3 separate regions of the Homo sapiens genome follow, and all the other regions are linked to region 2. The links are contacts of gene promoters, found by promoter capture Hi-C in human tissues and cell types (Jung and others, 2019). All regions are on one chromosome and are shown on one strand. Each heading gives the region's core, a stretch centred on a gene start or on the middle of the fragment in contact. The rest is flanking DNA. Distances are from core to core; before and after follow the strand shown.

Region 1 (2,700 bases), core at 120-2,619, 130 kb after region 2:
AAGTCACTTTCCCTTTCAAGGACTCTGTTCCTCCTCTGCAAAATAAAAGGGATACCTACATCCCCAAAGGGTTTTGGGAATAAAACCTAAGAATGCTTATAAAATGTCTGGCATAGTAAGCCATCAATAAATAGTAGCAGTTTTAATTAAAAGAATATCTATCTTACAAGTTAAGCATATGGGCTTTGGAGTCAGACAGACATGAATTCCAGTTTATCTACCTTCTGGCTACAATGTGACTTAACTTCTCTGAGCCTAATTTCCTGCTTATAAAATAGAGATTATATCACCTACCCTGACAGGACGTTGTAAGGATTGAGATAATATATGTAAAGTACTTTAGTACAGTATTGGAACCTACTAAAGTACTCAATACATATTAATATCATTATAATGACTAAAACTACTTAAGTTGCCAAATATAAAAATTACAATTTTACATTATTTTAATTATAGTGACTAATTATATTAATATAACAAATGTAAAATTAAAGAAGAGATTGACCGTTCCCAGAATTTTGGATTAGAGATGTGTAACCCAGTTCTCCCTCAGGGTCAACTTCCCTAAAATCAGAACAGGCAGCTGTTTCATTGGTAGAAACACCCACTTCCAGCCCTTACTTGTGTACTTCCCCAGCCCAGCCTTGTAGCCTCGTTTCAGAGCCTGACATCCGGCTCTGGCTGACTGGCACTGAAGTCCCCAAAGCAGAGGGGCATACCAGACGACTGGGGGGTTGGTGGAGGATCTTCGCAAGGCAAGAACACATCTGCTGCATCCGGGTCCCCAAGGTCAATAAGTTCTACTTGCTCCAGTGTGTCCACATTCACTTCCATGGATGAGATACTACCTATGGGGGCTGCGGATCAAGAAGTGGGCAAGTCAGGAGGACCCAAGCTGCACACCAGGACAGTGAGAGTTACATGTCAGGTCCCAAGTTAGAAGCATAGAGGGCCAAGAAAACCAGAGGGGAGAGAGTGCCACAAGATTCAGGACCCACAGGACATCCTCCCTACCCTACCCCAGTCCCTCTTCTCAGGACTTGGGACTTACGTCTCTGCGACTCGAGATGCAGATGGGACAGAGGAAAGACAAACTCTGTCTCTGGCTGTAAAATGTCCTCGAAGAATTTTTGCCGCTCCCGAAGGCGGAGCTGCTGGCGCTCCAGGGCGGCCCGAGGATTTGGGTCCATGTCAGCTCCTGCGGGTAGAGGAGCAAAACAAGTACAGCTGCAAAGTCGAAAGAGAAGACAGAGGGGACCTGGGCTTGGGGCGCCCCACTGCAGCCAGCATCCCAACAGTGGGGCCCCTGGCTCCGGCCTGGACACCTCTGCCCTTGGTGACCTCTTTCCCCTTCCCTGAAACCAAGTGTGTCCCACAAACCAAGTCTCATGCAGAGGCGGGGCTTGCCCTAAGCTCCACAAAGGGGATGCCAGTTCCAGGCACCACAAGAGAGATACTCTGTATTCAGGGAACACAGCCAATGCCCAACTCTCCATATCATGCCCTCCTGAGAGGGGTTGGAGGGATTGGTTCAGCACAAATGGAGGAGGTACGTTTTCCCCTTAATTGGCCCCGCTTGCCTCAGAAGGCCAGGGACAGGATAGGATAGAGACAGAGATCTCAGGGTGGAGGGTTCCCTTCCTCCAGTGCTGCAGCCCACCCCTTCCCATCCTTCAAAACCCAGACAAAGGCTAAAGCAACTCCTCCCGCGCCCCTCCTTTTCTCTCCACCCACACAAACACGTACACACGCATGTGCCATCTACCCCAAACCCTTGCTCTGAAGTCACAGGCCTGACTTCCAGACTAGGCTCTGCCCCTAAGGAAATCACCTTTCTGGTCTTAGTCTCCCCATCTGAAAATGGCATAACCAACCTACCTGCCTCAAATACAAGACCCTGCTTGTGAAGGTGAGCTATTTAGGAGACTACCATCTTTCCTTTGAACTCCAACAGCTCTTTATGCGTCCCCCTCCTGGGACACATCTCACTGACTTATCTCCCCATTAGTCAGTGAGGAGCAATTGGAAAGGCGGGTTCTGGGTCCAGTTCAGAGCAGGCCTCCTGACCCCTAGGGCTGAGAAGCTGAGACCCTGCCAGAGCACTGAGGCTATGGGCCAGCCCAGGTCGGTGCATTCATTCCCATTCGCTCATCTCCTTCCCGGCGTTCTGCTCTGAGCCCATCACCAGAGGCAAGGGAGTTTCTAGCTTGAGGATCAGACGTCATCCTCCGCAGACTGCCTTCCCCACCTCATCTGCACCCAGCGTATCCCAGACCCTGGCCAGCTCCACGGGCGCCACAGAGGTGGAGAGGGACCCAACCCCGACTGGCCAAGGCAGGGCCACGGAAGTCTGGGGAGACCGTGCGGCCGCGGGCTGGCGGCGGAGGAGCGAGGCGCTGACGCCGATTCCCGGGAAAGGCTCTTAGAGCTGCCGCCCAGGTCACAACGCTAAAAATACCCAGGGCCCCTGGAGCCTGTGCTCCAGCAGCGAGGAGGGGGAGGGAGAGGCCAAGGTGGGGGAGCTGACGGGGGCCAGGGGCTCTGGGACACCCCCTCTCTTTTCCCCTCCCCCTAACCCCACCGATCTCACGAGACTGAAGGAGCTGTCCCCCGGGGGGCCGCGGAGCCCAGAGCTGGAGAAAGGGAGTTGTTTACGCGACCTATAGGTACTGGAAAGGGGGTGAAGAGATTTGGGGGCAG
Region 2 (2,792 bases), core at 286-2,785:
TTTGATTCCATGTTTTTGCTATTGTAAATAGTGCTGCAGTGAACATACACATGCATGTATCTTTATAAAAGAATGATTTATATTCCTTTGAGTGTATACCCAGTAATGGGATTGCTGGGTCAAATGGTATTTCTGGTTCTAGATCTTTCAGGAATTGGCACACTCTCTTCCACAATGGTTGAACCAATTTACATTCCCAACAGTGTAAAAGCATTCATGTTTCTCCACAGCTTTACCAGCATCTGTTGTTTCTGGACTTTTTAATAATCACCATTCTGACTGGCATGAGATGGTATCTCATTGTGGTTTTGATTTGCATTTCTCTGATGATCACTGGTGTTGAGCTTTTTTTCATATGTTTGTTGGCCGCATAAATGTCTTCTTTTGAGAAGTGTCTGTTCATGTCCTTTGCCCACTTTTCAATGGGGTTGTTTGTTTTTTTTCTTGTAAATTTGTTTAAGTTCCTTGTAGATTCTGGATATCAGACCACAAATTTTCTTAATCTGTCTCCAGTGATGGGAAAGCTAAGCTATTTGTCCACTGATTCCCAACGCCCACTGGATGCCAGGGATACTAAATCCCTCGCTCTTTCAAACTGTTATACTTGCAAGCTATACAAGCTCCCTGGGGGCCAGAGAAAACCCACAGCAGAAAATTAGGGACTGATGCTAGAGGTAGGAGGCTGTCAATGTGCATTGGCTATTATTCGGCCATAAAAAGGAATGAACTTCTCACTCACCACTGATGACATGCCTTGCTGCACACACACCCTGCTGCCACCCTGCAGAAATGCTTCCATTACCCACAGTCCTTTGCCAGATGGAACTGATGCCCAGGTAACTGGCTCCTCACCTCCTTCGGGCTTATACCAAGGATATAAAACTTGGTACAGATGCTCAAGCGTTAATGCTTCAGGGTGTGACTTTTAATCCAATGCTGTAGCTGTGACAACAGGGAAAAACGGAGAACAGAGTTGGAGAAGTCCCAAAGTAATGAAAGAAGTTATTTACTGTTGCAAAATCAAACGACTTAAAGGATAAATGTAACTGATCTTTACATACGAAAGAAGAGAGAGGGAAGTGAAGGGCGGGGAGAAAGAGACTCAGACAGACAGAGACTCCCTGAGAAAAAGACAGGCACAGAGTAAAAGACATACAGATGCACAGAAAAGAGAAGAAACAGAGTGAGAAAAATAAAACATAAGAATAGACATGTCAGGAGAAGAGTGAAATTAGAAAGAAGGAAGAGAGCTAGCATACTGTTAACCTGCAAACTCCCCCTGGGAAATGGAAGACTCTGGAGTTAAACCTCCCCTTCTGCTAAGGGAGCCTGGAAAGCCCAAGACAACATGTGCCCTCTTTCCCTGGTAGACCAGAAAGCCTCAGATTGCTGAGGATTAGGAGCCACCTATCCCCCAGTGTAGGTACCAGGTAGTCCCACTGATGGCCTCAGGGATCTGGTGTTCCTGATCGGGGAGTCTGGCTGGCTTGTCTCCAGGGCTGTCTCTTAAGGTGCTGGGCCACACCGGGGCAGGCAAAGTGCAGATGTAGGAGCTGCTGAGGAGCAGTTCTTAGTTTTGGTGCCATCAACCAGGCCAGTACTTCCTAAAATGGGACTCTCAGGACTTCTGCCAATCCTGGTACCATTCATCCTTTTGGGGGACATCCAGGAACCTGGGCACGCTGAAGGCATCCTTGGCAGTAAGTATTGGGAACTCCGTCCTTGCAATGGGGAAAGGAAACTCAGTGGGGAGGAAGGAACAAAGAATAATTTTGCAGCTGAGAAATTATTTTCTCCACCTCTGCCTGGAATTCCAGGTGGGAAAGAGGGGAGCTATTTGAAGTCTCTTGGTAAGAGACTCCCTTGGTGAATACAGGCATCCAAATCTGTGGCAAGTGACTCCTTGCTGCCATTCCAAAGAGTTCTTCCTGGAGGTGCCTGGACCTAGAGCTCATGAAATGAACTAAGAAGGAGTAGTAAGCCCAAGGAAGTCTCCCACAAGAAAAACAGGCTGCTCCCCACAACACCACCTGTGTCAACTTCCAAATGTTCTCATTGCAGCCCCCACACCCATACCCACAGAGGACCCTGGTCTTTGGGTTAAAGAATGGTCTCCAGAAGTCCCTTGGAATGCTGAAATGTGAAGACTCACAATTAGCAGCTAACTGTACTGGGCACTGAAAATTAGTGGTTGAAAGTGAGCACTCAGGAGCCACACATTGTAGGTTCAAACCTGGCTCCACCCCTGAGTAGCTGTGTGATCTTGGGCAAATTCACATAATCTCCTTATGCTTCCAATTCTTCTGTTTACAAAATGTGAATATTAAGAGTACTTACCCATAGATTTGTAATGAGGATTAAGGAGAAAAGGCAGCTCACAGTAAGTGCTTCATCCATATTACTCATTGTTACGTTACATTGCCCCAGGCAGTTTGACGATGGCTTGTCAAACTGTGTTGCTGGTTAGTCTTCAAAGCAACCCTATGGGCAAATGAGGAAATCAAGGCTCAGAGAGAGTGCCTGGCACACCAAGCGTCTCACAGAATTCAAAAGCCCAGCTATCTGATGCCAGAAATGTTAATCTCAATCATCGAGAGCCACAGCACCTCCTGGGGGAGCAACCAAGCACAGCAAGGCTGAGTGACCAGAACAGTCTTAGAGGAATGCGTCTTTCTCTCAGGAATCTCATAGATGGTGCGGGTAGGGGGTAGGGGTTGGTTTAGGCATCCGATGGTGAGTTGTTATGGGGTTGGGGATGTGAGCAGTGTTGTGAAATTCCTGAGCCCCCTGAG
Region 3 (2,743 bases), core at 56-2,555, 240 kb after region 2:
TCCCAATAACCCAGATGTCAGCTGGGGTCTTCTTGTTTCTAGAAACTAAAAGTTGGCTTGAACTCTGATTTGATGACTGTTTAACATTCAAATCTCTCTCCAAGACCTCTGGAAATCCCCCAAGTGCTTATCTTCTGGTTGTCACCTCTTGCTGTGAGCCTCTGCTAAATTCATTTGATTTATGGATCCTCTCTCATTTCTCAACCCTGCACATGCTGTTCTTGTTCCATGCATGTTAATCAACCTCTTCGTTGGTTTACACACTTGTGTATGCAGGGGCATACACAAGCGTGTATGTGCTAAGTAACTCATAGCGCGTGCACACACACACGAAAAACTCATTATAATTGAATATTAGACAGCTTTGTTTCTGAAAGTCCTCAGTCAGCCTAGTACAAGGGATTTTTCACAGGCAGCCTCAACCCACAGAGTTACTCATCTTCATACTGGCTCTCTTGTTCTTTTTTTTTTTTTTCTTTCCTCTCTCCACTCTCATCTCCTTTCCAGGAACCCCAAATACTCACTTTTTTATACAGGGTAATTATCTTCTCTCCAGTCCAGCTCTCGGCCATCTTTGCCTATCCAGATCATCAAGATGCTCAACAGGGCAATAGTTCCCCATCTTCCATGGAAGGAAGCTGTGAATAGCAATCACTGTCTTCCATTATATTCCCATTTTGCAAATAGAAAAATGGAGGCTCAAATAGGTAAAGTGGCCAAACCTGTCCTCTGTAAGTCAGAGAGCATCTTGAGGACAGGGGCCCTGACTAATTAGGTCAGGATTTTTGGGGTTGGGGCCCAGGCGTAGGTATTCTTTAAAATTTCCTTAGGTGGTTGTGCTACCAGAGCTGAGAAGGGCAGTCCTGGGCATAGACTGACCCCATTTCTTCCTCAGCCATTGATCTGTGTGCTGAAGGGACCCATGGATGTGAGCACCACTGCGTCAATTCCCCAGGCTCCTATTTCTGTCACTGCCAAGTTGGCTTTGTACTCCAGCAGGACCAGAGGAGCTGCAGGGGTGAGCAACACCCCCACCCTCCCACCACACCCTGGACTGTGGCCTCCGAGGGCTCCAATCAGAGGCAACATCTTGCTGTTTCTTCCCTCCTGCCAGCCATTGACTACTGCAGCTTTGGGAACCATAGCTGTCAGCATGAGTGTGTTAGCACCCCTGGTGGGCCACGGTGCCACTGCAGAGAGGGCCATGACTTGCAGCCTGATGGGAGGAGCTGTCAGGGTGAGGAGGGCTCTCCTACATTTGTGGGAGGGGTAAGAGATCTTAGCTGGTGGGGTCCATCCTGACTCATCCTGACCTGTCTCTCCTTTCAGTCCGGGACCTTTGCAATGGCGTGGACCATGGCTGTGAGTTCCAGTGTGTGAGCGAGGGCCTCTCCTACCGCTGCCTGTGCCCCGAGGGGCGGCAACTTCAGGCAGATGGCAAGAGCTGCAACCGTGAGTGATGGGCGGGAGGGTGTTCTGTTGGCTTCTGCCCCATTGCCCACATTTGGAGTGTCCTTGACTTTGCCATTGCTGTGGCCCCTAGGCTGTGGTGTGAATGTCTGTGTGTGTTGTGGGGGTGACATTGGAGGGTGTGCCATTCCCTCCTTCCATCTCTTTCCTACAATCCTCTACTCTGCTGTCAATGTTAATTTAAAAATACATATTTGATCACATTCCTCCTTTGTGCACAAGCCTTCTGTGGCTCACCAATGACTACAGGAGAAAGATCAAATGACTTACCCCTAAGTATTTCAAATGGTGAGCAGAACCACATTAATGAATAATGAAATCAAATTACTGGGTTACAACCAACATTAAAAAAAAAAGAGTGGAAGACAATATAGAGTTTACTGCCTGTAGAAAGAGTTATATTATTTCTGAAATTTTAGTTCTGTGTGAAATGTCTCATGATGTATTGTCATTATTATTATTTTTACTGTGGGCTGTGATAAAAATTTTGAAACCACTGCCTTAGGTCATCACGATCTAGCTTCAGCCAACTCCATCTGCCCATCTCCTGCCACACTTGAACATTTCAGTCTTACTGGCCTGCCCCTCCCCGGATGTGTCAGGATCTCCCCAGATCCCAAGCCTCTGCACGTGCTGCATCTCACCTTCTAGACTGTCCCTTACTGCCTTGGCAAACTCCTACTGATCTTTCAAGACTGTCTTAGATCATTCAGGCTGCTATATCAAAGTACTGTAGACTAGACATTTAGTTTTCACAATTCTGGAGGCTGAGGAGTCCAAGACCAAGGTGCCAGCAGATATGGTGTCTAAAGAAGGCCTGTTTTCTGATTCTTAGATGGCACACCTTTCAAAGCCTCCCCACGCCAACACACACACACACACACACACCCCTACACACACACACCCACACACACCAATTTTCTTGCTGTGTCCTCACATGGTGAAGACAGGAAGCAAGCCCTCTTCGACTTTTTTTTTTTTTTTTTTTTTTGAGACTAAGTCTCCCTCTGTTTCTCGGGCTGGAGTGCAGTGGCGCGATGTCGGCTCACTGCAACCTCTGCCTCTGGGGCTCAACTGATTCTCCTGTTACAGCCTCTGGAGTAGCTGAGACTACAGGTGTGCCCCACCATGCTTGGCTAATTTTTGTATTTTTAGTGGAGATGGGGTTTTGCCATCTCAGCCAGGCTGGTCTCGAACTCCTAACCTCAAGTGATCTGCCCGCCTCAGCCTCCCAAAGTGCTGGGAGCCACCATGCCTGACCTCTTCAGACTCT

Evidence for each region. The method cuts DNA at HindIII sites, captures the fragments that hold promoters and counts their contacts. A contact is called where the count stands out against the background at its distance.
Region 1: the fragment with the promoter of DBNDD2 here is called in contact with the fragment with the promoter of WFDC6 in region 2 in 2 of the 25 tissues and cell types used here (heart left ventricle and mesendoderm cells).
Region 3: a contact is called between a fragment that was not itself captured here and the fragment with the promoter of WFDC6 in region 2, in 1 of the 25 tissues and cell types used here (hippocampus).

What each region holds. Positions count from the first base shown.
Region 1 is chr20:45,406,958-45,409,657 of GRCh38, reverse strand. DBNDD2 (dysbindin domain containing 2) reads right to left here and starts at 1,369. Exons shown (of 3, transcript NM_001048225.4): 1 at 1,052-1,369; 2 at 720-857. The coding sequence starts at 1,190. SYS1-DBNDD2 (SYS1-DBNDD2 readthrough (NMD candidate)) reads right to left here. Exons shown (of 6, transcript NR_003189.2): 4 at 1,052-1,198; 5 at 720-857. LOC107985404 (a long non-coding RNA gene) reads left to right here and starts at 1,769. Exons shown (of 5, transcript XR_007067608.1): 1 at 1,769-1,909. RefSeq lists an enhancer at 2,232-2,700. The HindIII fragment of the contact is 23,713 bases long and covers 1-2,700 here.
Region 2 is chr20:45,538,225-45,541,016 of GRCh38, reverse strand. It overlaps WFDC6 (WAP four-disulfide core domain 6), which reads left to right and starts at 1,535. Exons shown (of 3, transcript NM_080827.2): 1 at 1,535-1,700. The coding sequence starts at 1,610. All of the region lies in intron 3 of EPPIN-WFDC6 (EPPIN-WFDC6 readthrough), which reads left to right. It overlaps EPPIN (epididymal peptidase inhibitor), which reads left to right. Exons shown (of 4, transcript NM_020398.4): 4 at 1-391. LOC107987282 (a long non-coding RNA gene) reads right to left here. Exons shown (of 4, transcript XR_001754641.3): 3 at 2,338-2,481; 4 at 630-942. It also overlaps the pseudogene HSPD1P21. The HindIII fragment of the contact is 28,992 bases long and covers 1-2,792 here.
Region 3 is chr20:45,299,596-45,302,338 of GRCh38, reverse strand. MATN4 (matrilin 4) reads left to right here. Exons shown (of 10, transcript NM_001393530.1): 4 at 896-1,018; 5 at 1,115-1,237; 6 at 1,330-1,452. Among named protein-coding and RNA genes, the nearest start is that of RBPJL, 5.9 kb to the left of the region's middle. The HindIII fragment of the contact is 4,441 bases long and covers 1-2,743 here.